Linked DNA regions of Homo sapiens: region 1 is linked to region 2. The links are contacts of gene promoters, found by promoter capture Hi-C in blood cells and fetal thymus (Javierre and others, 2016). All regions are on one chromosome and are shown on one strand. The core of a region is centred on a gene start or on the middle of the fragment in contact, and the rest is flanking DNA. Distances in the headings are between cores, read along the strand shown.

Evidence for each region. The method cuts DNA at HindIII sites, captures the fragments that hold promoters and counts their contacts. A CHiCAGO score of 5 or more calls a contact.
Region 1: a fragment that was not itself captured here is called in contact with the fragment with the promoter of PEMT in region 2 in 3 of 17 cell types (naive CD4 T cells, non-activated CD4 T cells and total B cells); the score reaches 6.2 in naive CD4 T cells.

Annotation. Positions count from the first base shown.
Region 1 is chr17:18,030,267-18,035,859 of GRCh38, forward strand. The region is part of intron 1 of ATPAF2 (ATP synthase mitochondrial F1 complex assembly factor 2); the gene reads right to left. Among named protein-coding and RNA genes, the nearest start is that of ATPAF2, 6.1 kb to the right of the region's middle. The HindIII fragment of the contact is 2,164 bases long and covers 3,202-5,365 here.
Region 2 is chr17:17,589,076-17,594,353 of GRCh38, forward strand. PEMT (phosphatidylethanolamine N-methyltransferase) reads right to left here and starts at 2,633. Exons shown (of 7, transcript NM_148172.3): 1 at 2,456-2,633. The coding sequence starts at 2,551. RefSeq lists enhancers at 2,078-2,819, 2,385-2,774. The HindIII fragment of the contact is 3,820 bases long and covers 1,701-5,278 here.

The DNA.
Region 1 (5,593 bases), core at 3,034-5,533, 440 kb after region 2:
GCTGAGATCACGCCACTGCACTCCAGCCTGGGTGGCAGAGCAAGACTCCATCTCAAAAAAAAAAAAAAAAAAAAAAAGAAAAATTAAAAATTAGCTAGGCATGGTGGCACATGCCTGTAGTCCCCAGCTACTAGGAAGGCTGAAGCAGGAAGATTGCTTGAGCCCAGGAGGCTGAGGCTTCAGGTGAGCTGTGATGGCACCACTGCACTCCAGCCTGGGCAACAGAACAAGACCCTGTCTCTTGGGGAAAAAAAAAAAAAAAAAAAAAACAAGCTTAAGTTAAAATTTCATTAATTCAAATAGACCATGAAAATTCAGGAGAAATTAGTATGTGTGCATGGACAGGGAAGGGTAATGGAGAAGTGGGCAACTGGTTTTACTCCAAATATTTTTTTTCTTTTTCTTTTTTTTTTTTTTTTGAGATGGAGTCTCACTCTGTTGCCCACGCTGGAGTGCAGTAGCGCGATCTCAGCTCACTGCAAGCTCCACCTCCCAGGTTCACGCCATTCTCCTGCCTCAGCCTCCTGAGTAGCTGCGACTACAGGCGCCGCCACCACGCCTGGCTTTTTTTTTTTTTTTTTTTTTTTTAGTAGAGACGGGGTTTCACCGTGTTAGCCAGGATGGTCTTGATCTCCTGACCTCGTGATCCACCTGCCTTGGCCTCCCAAAGTGCTGGGATTGCAGGCGTGAGCCACCGCGCCTGGCCTTTTTTTTTTTTTTTTTTGAGATGGAGTCTCACTTTGTCGCCCAGGCTGTAGTGCAGTGGCGCGATCTCGGTTCACTGCAAGTTCTGCCTCCTCGGTTCACACCATTCTCCTGCCTCAGCCTCCCGAGTACCTGGGACTACAGGTGCCTGCCACCACGCCTGGCTAATTTTTTGCATTTTGTTTAGTAGAGGCGGGGTTTCACCATGTTAGCCAGGATGGTCTCGATCTCCTGACCTCGTGATCCGCCCACCTCAGCCTCCCAAAGTGCTGGGATTACAGGCGTGAGCCACTGCGCCCAGCCTACTCCAAATATTTTTATGTTTTCCCATCATATCAGTTTTCTATAAATCTCATTTGCTATCACTAATACTTACAGACAGAGGGCCCAAAATTGCATTCCACATTTGCACTTACTAAACTAAGGCCCAAATTGTTTTCCCACAAAAATATGTGTGTGTCTACCATGTGTCTTGGCACTTGGGATACAAGAGTGAATAAAATAGACAGAGTTTAAAGTGTTTTTTTAGGCCAGGCGCGGTGGTCACGCCTGTAATCCCAGCACTTTGGGGGGCTGAGGCGGGCGGATCACGAGGTCAGGAGATTGAGACCATCCTGGCTAACACAGTGAAACCCCATCTCTACTAAAAATACAAAAAATTAGCCGGGCGTGGTGGCGGGCGCCTGTAGTCCCAGCTACTTGGGAGGCTGAGGCAGGAGAATGGCGTGAACCCGGGAGGTGGAGCTTGCAGTGAGCTGAGATCGCACCACTGCACTCCAGCCTGGGTGACAAAGCAAGACTCCATCTCAAAAAAAAGAAAATAAAGTGTTTTTTTAGGATCAGATCTGTCCACCAAGATGATGTTGTCTTACTATGGCACCTTCATCTGAAATCACAACACTGATTATCTCATACGTTTGACACTAAAATTAGAAGTTTACAGCACCCTACTGCTTTTAAATTTCTCTACATGCTGTCCTGGTCATATCCAAATGGCAGGCTAGACATGGGTCTGGAGGCCTCCTTTCCTCTCTCAGGTCTGGAGTGAGGTAGACCATGTCCTTTGTGTTTTCCAATGCAACAGGCTGGGCTGCATGTATAAAAGCCAGGCCAGGCAGGAAGTTGGGAAGGGCTCTGAAAGCTCTGACTCAACACTGGGGAAAGGGTCTTCCCATGTCAGCAGGAAGAGCCAGCAGAGTGTACAAATGTACAAGAGTGAGCACTCTAGCATACTTCCAGGCCCGGTCTGGGAAGTGAACCCAAGAGACCTGGGGCAGACGAACAGACTCAAGGCAGGAACTGCCAGCACAGGGCTGAACCTTCAAAAGCTCCTGGGACAGCCAGGTTTCCCAAGAGGGAAGTCTTTTTTCTGTTTTGTTGGCCAGGCTCACTTCTGTAACTGAATAAGAAAAAACTAGATGGGAGTGGGATAGATGGAGGGCAGGGAAGAAGCCACCAAAAATTTCTCCAAGCAGAAGAAAACCATGCAGAAAATGAGACGGCAGAAGGGCAAAAGAAGCCCAGGGGCCGCCAGGCCTCAGATTAGAAGGCAGGTGCACATAGATGTGTTTTAGCCAGGGGCTCTCCTGAATGACCCACTGACACTTGGAGGGGCAAACGTGTCTTGGAACAAGCTTTGGTGAGTACTGATCATGTTCCAGGACATACAAGTCCTGGGGATGGGACATGTGCAAAGCTCATCTCTGCACTCTCCAGCCATTTACTGTCTAGTAGGAATACAGACACTAAACCAGGCAAACAATAAGGTGACTTCTGTGATGGGGCAGGCACGTGGAACGATTAGTCAGAATTAAATTGCAACTTGAAGGTGAGGCAGGAGGTACCAAACTTTCTGATTGATTCAATTTTTTTTTTTTTTTTTTGGCAGAGCAGGGCTGTGGAAGTAGTTTCCAGATGAAGAAACAGGTTGCATGAAGGACCAGGGTTTCTAGAGAGCAGTTGTGGACTAGACAGATGGTCAGAAGGAGAATGCAAGATTCTCTAAGATGCTAGAGAGGGCAATGGGGCCACATATGGGGGACATGTAGATCACTGCAAAGACAGCAAAGGGAGCCAAGTAAAGGCTCCACACAGGCATACAGGAACTTGATCTGGGGCCGGGCATGGTGGCTCATGCCTGTAATCCCAGAACTTTGTGAGGCCGAGGGGGACAGATCACTTAAAGCCAGGAGCTCAAGAGCAGCCTGGCCAACATGGTGAAACCCTGTCTCTACAAAAAATTAAAAAATTGGCGAGGTGTGGTATTGCCTGCCTGTAATACCAGCTACTCAGGAGGCTGAAAATCAGTTGAACCCAGGAGGCGGAGGTTGTAGTGAACCAAGATTGCGCCACTGCACCCCAACCAGGGTGACAGAATGAGACTCTGTCTCAAAAAAAAAAAAAAAAAAGAACATGATCTGGACAATTCGTTTGGGGGATCCATGTTCCCCAACAATGTCACATAAGACAAAATGTGAGACCACCAGAAACCTATGAAGCTTCCATGTTCTCGGTGAATACATGGTTAGCAGACATCAATGGTAACCCTGTCTTTAAAGATGAAAAAAATCAGCCTAGCTTTGTAGGATCATGCAGAACTGGCCTTTCCTTTAGAAAGATTACCAGCCTCAGGAACCACAACTCCCACAGTGCACCAAGAAGAGGAAGTACTGGTTTCAGAGCTGTCTCAGTGCCTTTATCTTTTAAAACAGTGCCATCTGGTGGGCCTTAAACCTTAAAGGTGAAATTCTAACTCCAGGGCCATCTGTAATCCTAGGGCGGCTCTAACCAACTCTTTTCAGGTATCAAAATTCTTCAGCCCAAATACATAAAGAACTCTTACGACTCAATAACAAAAAGACAAATAGGCTGGGCATGGTGGCTCGAGCTTGTAATCCCAGCACTTTGGCTGGCTGAGGCAGGTGGATCACTTGAGTCCAAGAGTTCAAGACCAGCCTGAGCAACATGGCAACACCCTGTCTCTACAAAAATACAAAAATTAGCCAGGCATGGTGGCACGTGCCTGTAGTCCCAGCTACTCAGGAGGCTGACATGGGAGGATCACCTGAGCCTGGGAGGTTGAGGCTGCAGTGAGCCATGAACACACCCCTGCACTCTAGCCTAGGCAACAGACCGAGGCCCTGTCTCAAAAACAACAACAAATAACCCAATTTAAAAATGTTCAAGTCTGAGAGACCGAGGTGGGAAGATTGCTTGAGTCCAGGAGTTTGAGACCAGCCTGGGCAACATAGCAAGACCCTGTCTGTACAAAAAAATTTTAAAGTCAGCTGGGCATGGTGGCACACACCTGTAGTTCCCAGCTACTTTGGAGGCTGAGGTGTGAGGCTCGCTTGAGCCCAGGAGGTTGAGGCTGCAGTAAGCTGTAACTGAGCCACTTGCACTACAACCTGGGTGACAGAGCAAGACCCCCTCTCTTTAAAAAAAAACAATGGTCAAGGGATCTGAATAGACGTTTCTTCAAAGAAAATATACAAATAGCCATTAAGCACGTGAAAAGATACTCAACATAATTCATCAGAGAAATGCAAATCAAAACCACAATGAGATACCACTTCAAACCCTTTAGGACAGCTGTAATAAAAAAGACAACAACAAGTGTTGAGATATAGAGAAACTGGACCCCTCAAACACTGCTGGTGGAAATGTGAAATGGCACAGCCACCTTGAAAAACAGTCTGGCAGATCCTCCAAAAGTTAAACAGAGTTACCATTTGACCCAGTAATTCTACTCTTAGGTATATGTCCAAGAGAAATGAAAACATATGTCCACACAAAAACTTGTACATGAATGTTCATAGTAGCGTTATTCATATTAGCCAAAAGGTAGAAACGACCCTGTGTCCACCAATGGATGAATGGATAAGTAAAATGTGGCATATTTACACATACAATGGAATATTGTTTGGCAATAAAGAAGAATGGAGTCATTGATACATGATACAAGGTGGATAAAACTTAAAAACGTTTGGTCATGGTGGCTCACTCCTGTAATCCCAGCACTCTGGAAGGCCGAAGCAGGAGGATCACTTGAGGCCAGGAGTTTGAGGTCAGCCTGAGCAAGACCCCATCTCTACAAAGCACTAAAAAGCTAGCCGGGCATGGTGGTGTGTGCCTGTAGCCCTAGCTACTTGGGAGGCTGAGGCAGGAGGATCACTTGAGCCCAGGAGTTTGAGGTTACAGTGAGCTGTGATCGTGCCACTACACTCCAGCCTGGGCAACAGAATGAGACCCAATCTCTTAAAAACAAAAAAAAACAAAAAAAACCCAAACTTTAAAACATTATGCTAAGTGAAAAAGTCAGTCAAAAAAGACCACATTCTATTTATATAAAATGTCCCAAACAGGGAAATCTATAAAAGAACAAAGGAAAGTAGTAGTTGCCAAGGGATGGAAGTAGTAAGGGTGGATGATAGCTAAAGGGTGCAGGTTTCTTTTAAGGGTGATAAAAATGTTCTAAAATTGATTGTGGCAATGGCTGTACAATTCTGTAAATATACTAAAAACTATTATATTTACACTTCAAGTAAATGAATTGTATAGCAAGTAAATATCTCAATAAAGCTGTTAAAAAAATCCTTCAGGCCAAATGTATAACATTTAGCAAACTTTTTCTGCAAAGAATCAGATAGTAAATATTCTAAGCTTTGCAAGCCATACAATATCTGTTCCAACTATTCAACTCTGCCACTGTAGTGAAAGTAGCCATAGATGATATGTAAATGAATGCATGTGGCTGTGTTCCAATAAAACTCTATTTACAAAAACAGGTGGCAGGCTGGACCCTGATCTACAGACTACATAATCTCCCTCAATCCACACCACTATTCTATGAGGATGACAAGGCAGCTAATGCCTCGGAGGTGATAGA
Region 2 (5,278 bases), core at 1,383-3,882:
TCAGCCTCCCGAGTAGCTGGGATTACAGGCATGTGCCGCCACGCCTGGCTAACTTTTTATATTTTTAGTAGAGATGGGATTTCTCCATGTTGGTCAGGCTGGTCTCAAACTCCCGACCTCAGGTGATCCACCTGCTTTGGCCTCCCAGAGTGCTGGGATTACAGGCGTGAGCCACCGTGCCCAGCCCCAACAGCTGATTTTTTTTTTTTTTTTTTTAAAAACAAAAGCAAGATTCTGTACCTGCTGAAGCAGGCCCAGAAAAGAGCTGGTGGAGGGCATGGTACCCAGAGCAGCACTGTTTGGTATGACATGGCAGCCACTGGTCACAGGCAGTGCCACAAGCTTGGAATGCCACAGGACAAAATATGTCTGATATATATTTTGGTAACAATAAAATATATTGTCAAAATTATTTTTCTATTTCTTTGCTATTTTCCATTTCTTCTCACTAATTTAACATGGCTACTAGAAAGGTTTAAATTATGCATGTGGCACACGATGTTTCTACTGGACAGCACAGCAGCACAGGGCTAGCACCGGAGATCCTGCAGCTCAGACGCCCATGGGGTGAACAAAAACCTTGCAACTCTCCCAGGCCAGGGACTGACATATTTTAAAACCGGAGATTTTGATTGAGGAGGGAGTAGAGCTACCACATAAGCAAATATGTAATGTTGTATGTTGTATGTTTCTTTCTTTCTTTCTTTAAGAAAAATCCCTTGGCAACAGGAAGCTTAACTGCACCAACAAGGACAGCAGAAGAAAAGCAGAATGTTAGTCAACAAGGGTCACCCTGACCCGAACCCCAGCCCCAGCTCTCTCCAGCTGCACAGCCCTGGGGAGAAAGGAGAAAGAGCAGAGAAGCCCACCCCTCACACACCCGGTTAGTCTCCCCTGCCCACTGGCAGGCCCTGGGGCAGGCCCCTAGATGGGTCTGCAAAGGGACACTGCCCCCTTGCATTCTGCCCCCCCTTCTACATGGCTCCCCCACCCACCCTTCTACACGGTGGCTTCTGAGGGCAGCCCCTGGAGGTGATCATGACCCCCCATCTTGATCTGAGGATTAACAGATACAGGTTCACCTGGTGAAAATGCAGGAGCTGTAGGGGTAGGACCCATCACTCATCTGACTGCATGTTGTAATTCAATGGACAGTTTACTAAAGTAATAGTCTTCTTCCTGTCCTCTGCTGAGCACCCATCTGGCCAACGGTCCTGCGCTCCCTCAGGGCCAGCGGCCCATCTCCTCCTGTGCCTCCTGGAGGGCTTCGCAACTGCCTCCCTCCTCTGGGGAATCTTGCCCCACTGACTGACCTTTCGGCTCTCAGATCCCAGGTCCCTCCCTCGCAGATACGGCAACAGGCTCTCTTGGGATTTCAATCCCGCCTTCCCATCAGCTACTCTTCAAAACACTAACTGGTATTAGCTCCTTCAGAGAACTCTCTGGCTTTCCAGGCCTACAATCTCCCTCCCTAGAATGAAAGCTCAGTGACAGAAGTGCCCTTAAACTTCTGAGTGACACGAGGCCCTCAGCCGGCCCTGAATCAATACTGGCTGGATCAGTGAGTGAATAAATGCACATGTGAGTAAGGAATGAAGGGAGCGAAAGAACTGGATTAGAAGCTGCTTGGGGCAGAGATGTGCCTTACAGGCTTCATGAAGAGTGGGTGATGAAAAAGGTAAATGGAGCATCTAAGAGGAAGCTTTGATAGAAGGGAGAATGCAAGAGAGGTTGGAAATTGGAATCCATTGGAATTGGGAGCCTGGGGAGATGCCAGGACAGGCACTCTCTGGCCTAGGACTCTGCAGAGGGCAGCCTCAGCAGGCAAGCCAGGCCCCCAGCTTCTGGGGCCGGTCGCACCCATTATGGCCCCGAAACGGCTGGGTGGTGGTCTGCAGCCTGCCCAGGGCCGGCTGGGAGACAGGCAGGGTCCCCACCACTCTCTTGCCTCTGGGCAAAAGCTGGCCTCCTGACCCTGGGGGATGGACGGGAGCAGGGGCCACACAACACACTCCCAAACATATAATCGGCCTCCTTCACCCTCGCCCACGCTCAGTCACACACAGCCTCGGTCATACACACTCACACTCACTCTCCGGCACACTCTCAGAGCATCACATAATTTCAGTGAGACACAATCCCAAAGACTAACACGGACAACCTCTGAGTCTCACACAATCTCAGGGCCACACACAGGCACACAATCAGACGAGCTCAGGAACGCCCCCGTCTCTGACACACGCAATCTGAGGTTTACACGCGCGCGCACACGCACACACACAGACACCAGCCGGCGCTCCCGCACGCGGCTCCCCCACCCCCGCCACGCCACGCCCCCATTGCCTGGGAACTGGCGGCCCCGCCCCGCAGCGTTTGAGGCGCCGCAAGCCTTCACGCCCCTCGGGCCTTGCAGATCCCTCTCCCAGTTTCCGCGGCGGTCCGGTGCGGTCAGTACCTGTCTAAAATCAATATTGCCGAGGCCTCCGCAGCAGTCAGGCCCTGCCACCGAGCTGTTCGTTACCTCGGCTCCCGGGTTCCCAGATCTCTTCATCCGGGGGCCGCCTCAGGAGGCACCACGCGGGCCCCGCTGCAGCCACGCGCCCCCGGAACCGGACCTATAGAGCCGGGTAAGTGCCGCCAGTCGGGGCGCTTTCCCGGTGACCCCCAACATATTCCGGCCTTCTGGGAAATGTAGTTCCCCGTCACCGCGAAGTGCCTCTTTATCTGGGGGCTCGCGACAGCGTCTAGAGGAGCCGAGAACTACAAGTCCCAGTGTGTTTCGCCGCAGAGCCTGCCGGTTCCGCTGCAGCTACGTAGCAGTATCCCCTTGGATCCGGCCTCCCGCCCAGTGCCTTTGGTCGCCGGCTGCCGCACCCGAGCCTGTAACTGACCTGGCGTCCCTGCCCTTGCCTGGCGGCGGTGGGGCTAGAGGCCGGGGGCCGCGGGTCGTAGCTATAAGCAGCTTCCCGCGCAGCCTCCTGCGGACTTGGACTTGGCCCGGGTCACACACGCCCAGGGCCCCACACGCCCAGGGCCCCACGCCCTCTTCTGAAATTCGCTTTACTCTGGGGGCGGTGCGCGACGAGCACTGCCTAGAGCTTCCCGCCCCCGCGGCGCCCAGGCTCTTTAGCTCGGCCAAAGACCCCTCCTCCACTCATTTTTTCCTTCATTCATTCTCTCATTCACTCTCGAGTATTTTCTGAACCAGACTGTGCGCTGAGGGTACGGTAGGGAACAACACAGAGTCCCCCGCCCTCGCTTCCTCCTGACTGAGATAAAAGACAAAATGTGAATAAAGGGTTATAATATGGATGAGTACTGTGGTGGAAAAAACGGGGTGGGTCAAATGGTACGGAAGGATGCTGTCTTAGAATGTGCAGGGGAGGTGCCAGATGTGCCAAGTGTGAGGGCAGGGCAAACAAGGCAAGACGAATGGTATGTACAAAGGCCTGGAGACAGGACGGGCACCTAAGGAACAGAGAAAAGACCGGTGAGCTGTGGAGTAGTGATGGAGGGGGTCAAATGGAGAAGAGTTTAGACGATCGGGTCCCAGAAGAACCCCTTTTGTAGGCCGGGTGTGGTGGCTCATGCCTGTAATCCCAGCACTTTGGGAGGCCGAGGTGGGCGGATCACCAGAGGTCGGCAGTTCGAGACCAGCGTGACTAACACGGTGAAACCCCGTCTCTATTAAAAATACAAAAAATAGCCGGGTGTGGTGCGCGCACCTGTAATCCCAGCTACTCAGGAGGCTGAGGCAGGAGAATCGCTTGAACCCAGGAGGTGGAGGTTGCAGTGAGCGGAGATGGTGCCATTGCATGCCAGCCTGCGCGACAGAGCGAGACTCCCTCTCAAAAAAGAAAAAAGCCCTTTTGTAGCCAGGTGTTATGTAATATGGGGAAATAGACTGAGAGGTTCCAAGATTTGCTCAGTCACCCAGACTGCTGGGGGCCCAGACAGGACTTCTGCAGTCAGCTGCTTCCTGCTCCAGATGGCCCGTTTCTCTCCACCTTGGCCCACAGCACCTACCAGTGTTGAGCATTTACTGAGCAGCCACTGTGTGCTGCTTTAGAGGTAGTCCCAATCTTCACAACATCGCTAGGATGGGGCAGGCCAACCGAGGAGACAGGAAAGACACTGGCTTTGGAGCATGCACTATCTCTGTGACTGAGCCCACCTTCATTTTCCTCAAAAGTAAAAGGGAAATACATGTTGGTAAAACTCATCACCCAGGAACTGGCCTGTGGGAAGTGCTCAGTAGGCATTGGCCCCCGGCAGGGCTGGGGACACAGGCTCAGGGCTGGTTCTCTGACTTACCACTGTTACTAATGAGTGTCGGGACCCTTTCCCTGCTCAGTGTCCAGGCAGAGCTGCTAGAGGCAGAGCCATTTCTGAAGGAGCCCCCCGCAGCGGGAGGGCTTCTAGCAAGTCTTTCCCCTCCGCCTACCACACATCCACTTCACTGATGTTCCAGTCTTCTGACCTAACTGGTCACTCCTGTTTTGTTAAGCCCAGAAAACAAATTTTTGTGCGTTTGCTTTATCTGAGAACAAAGTAAGGCAACCGTAAGAGGTCACACCAGAACTGATGCAGTCCGATCCTCTACTCCAGCCTACCCAACCTGGGCCACCCTTCCTCTGTGAAAAGCAAACACCCCACCCAGGAGACAGACTTGCAGCTTGAAACAAGTCAGATAAAAACCTCCTGCCTGGCTCACACCTGGAATCCCAGCACTTTGGGAGGCCGAGGCAGGCGGATCATGAGGTCAGGAGTTCAAGACCAGCCTGACCAACACAGTGAAACCCCGTCTCCACTAAAAATACAAAAATTAGCTAGGCATGGTGGTGCACACTTGTAATCCCAGCTACTCAGGAGGCTGAGTCAGGAGAATTGCTTGAACCCAGGAGGTGGAGGCTGCAGTGAGCCGAGATCGCGCCACTGCACTCCAGCCTGGGCCAGGCTGGGCATGGTGGCTCACGCCTGGAATCCCAGCACTTTGGGAGGCCAAGGCGGGCAGATCACGAGGTCAGGAGTTCGAGACCAGCCTGGCCAGCATGGTGAAACCCCGTCTCTACTAAAAATACAAAAATTAGCCAGGCATGGTGGTGCACACCTGTGATCCTAGCTACTAAGGAGGCTGAGGCAGGAGAATCACTTGAACCTGGGAGGTGGAGGTTGCAGTGAGCCGAGATTGCACCACTGCACTCCAGCCTGGGCGACAGAGATTCCATCTAAAAAAATAAAAATAAAAAACCCTGCCAAAGATACTTTGGGGCACAAG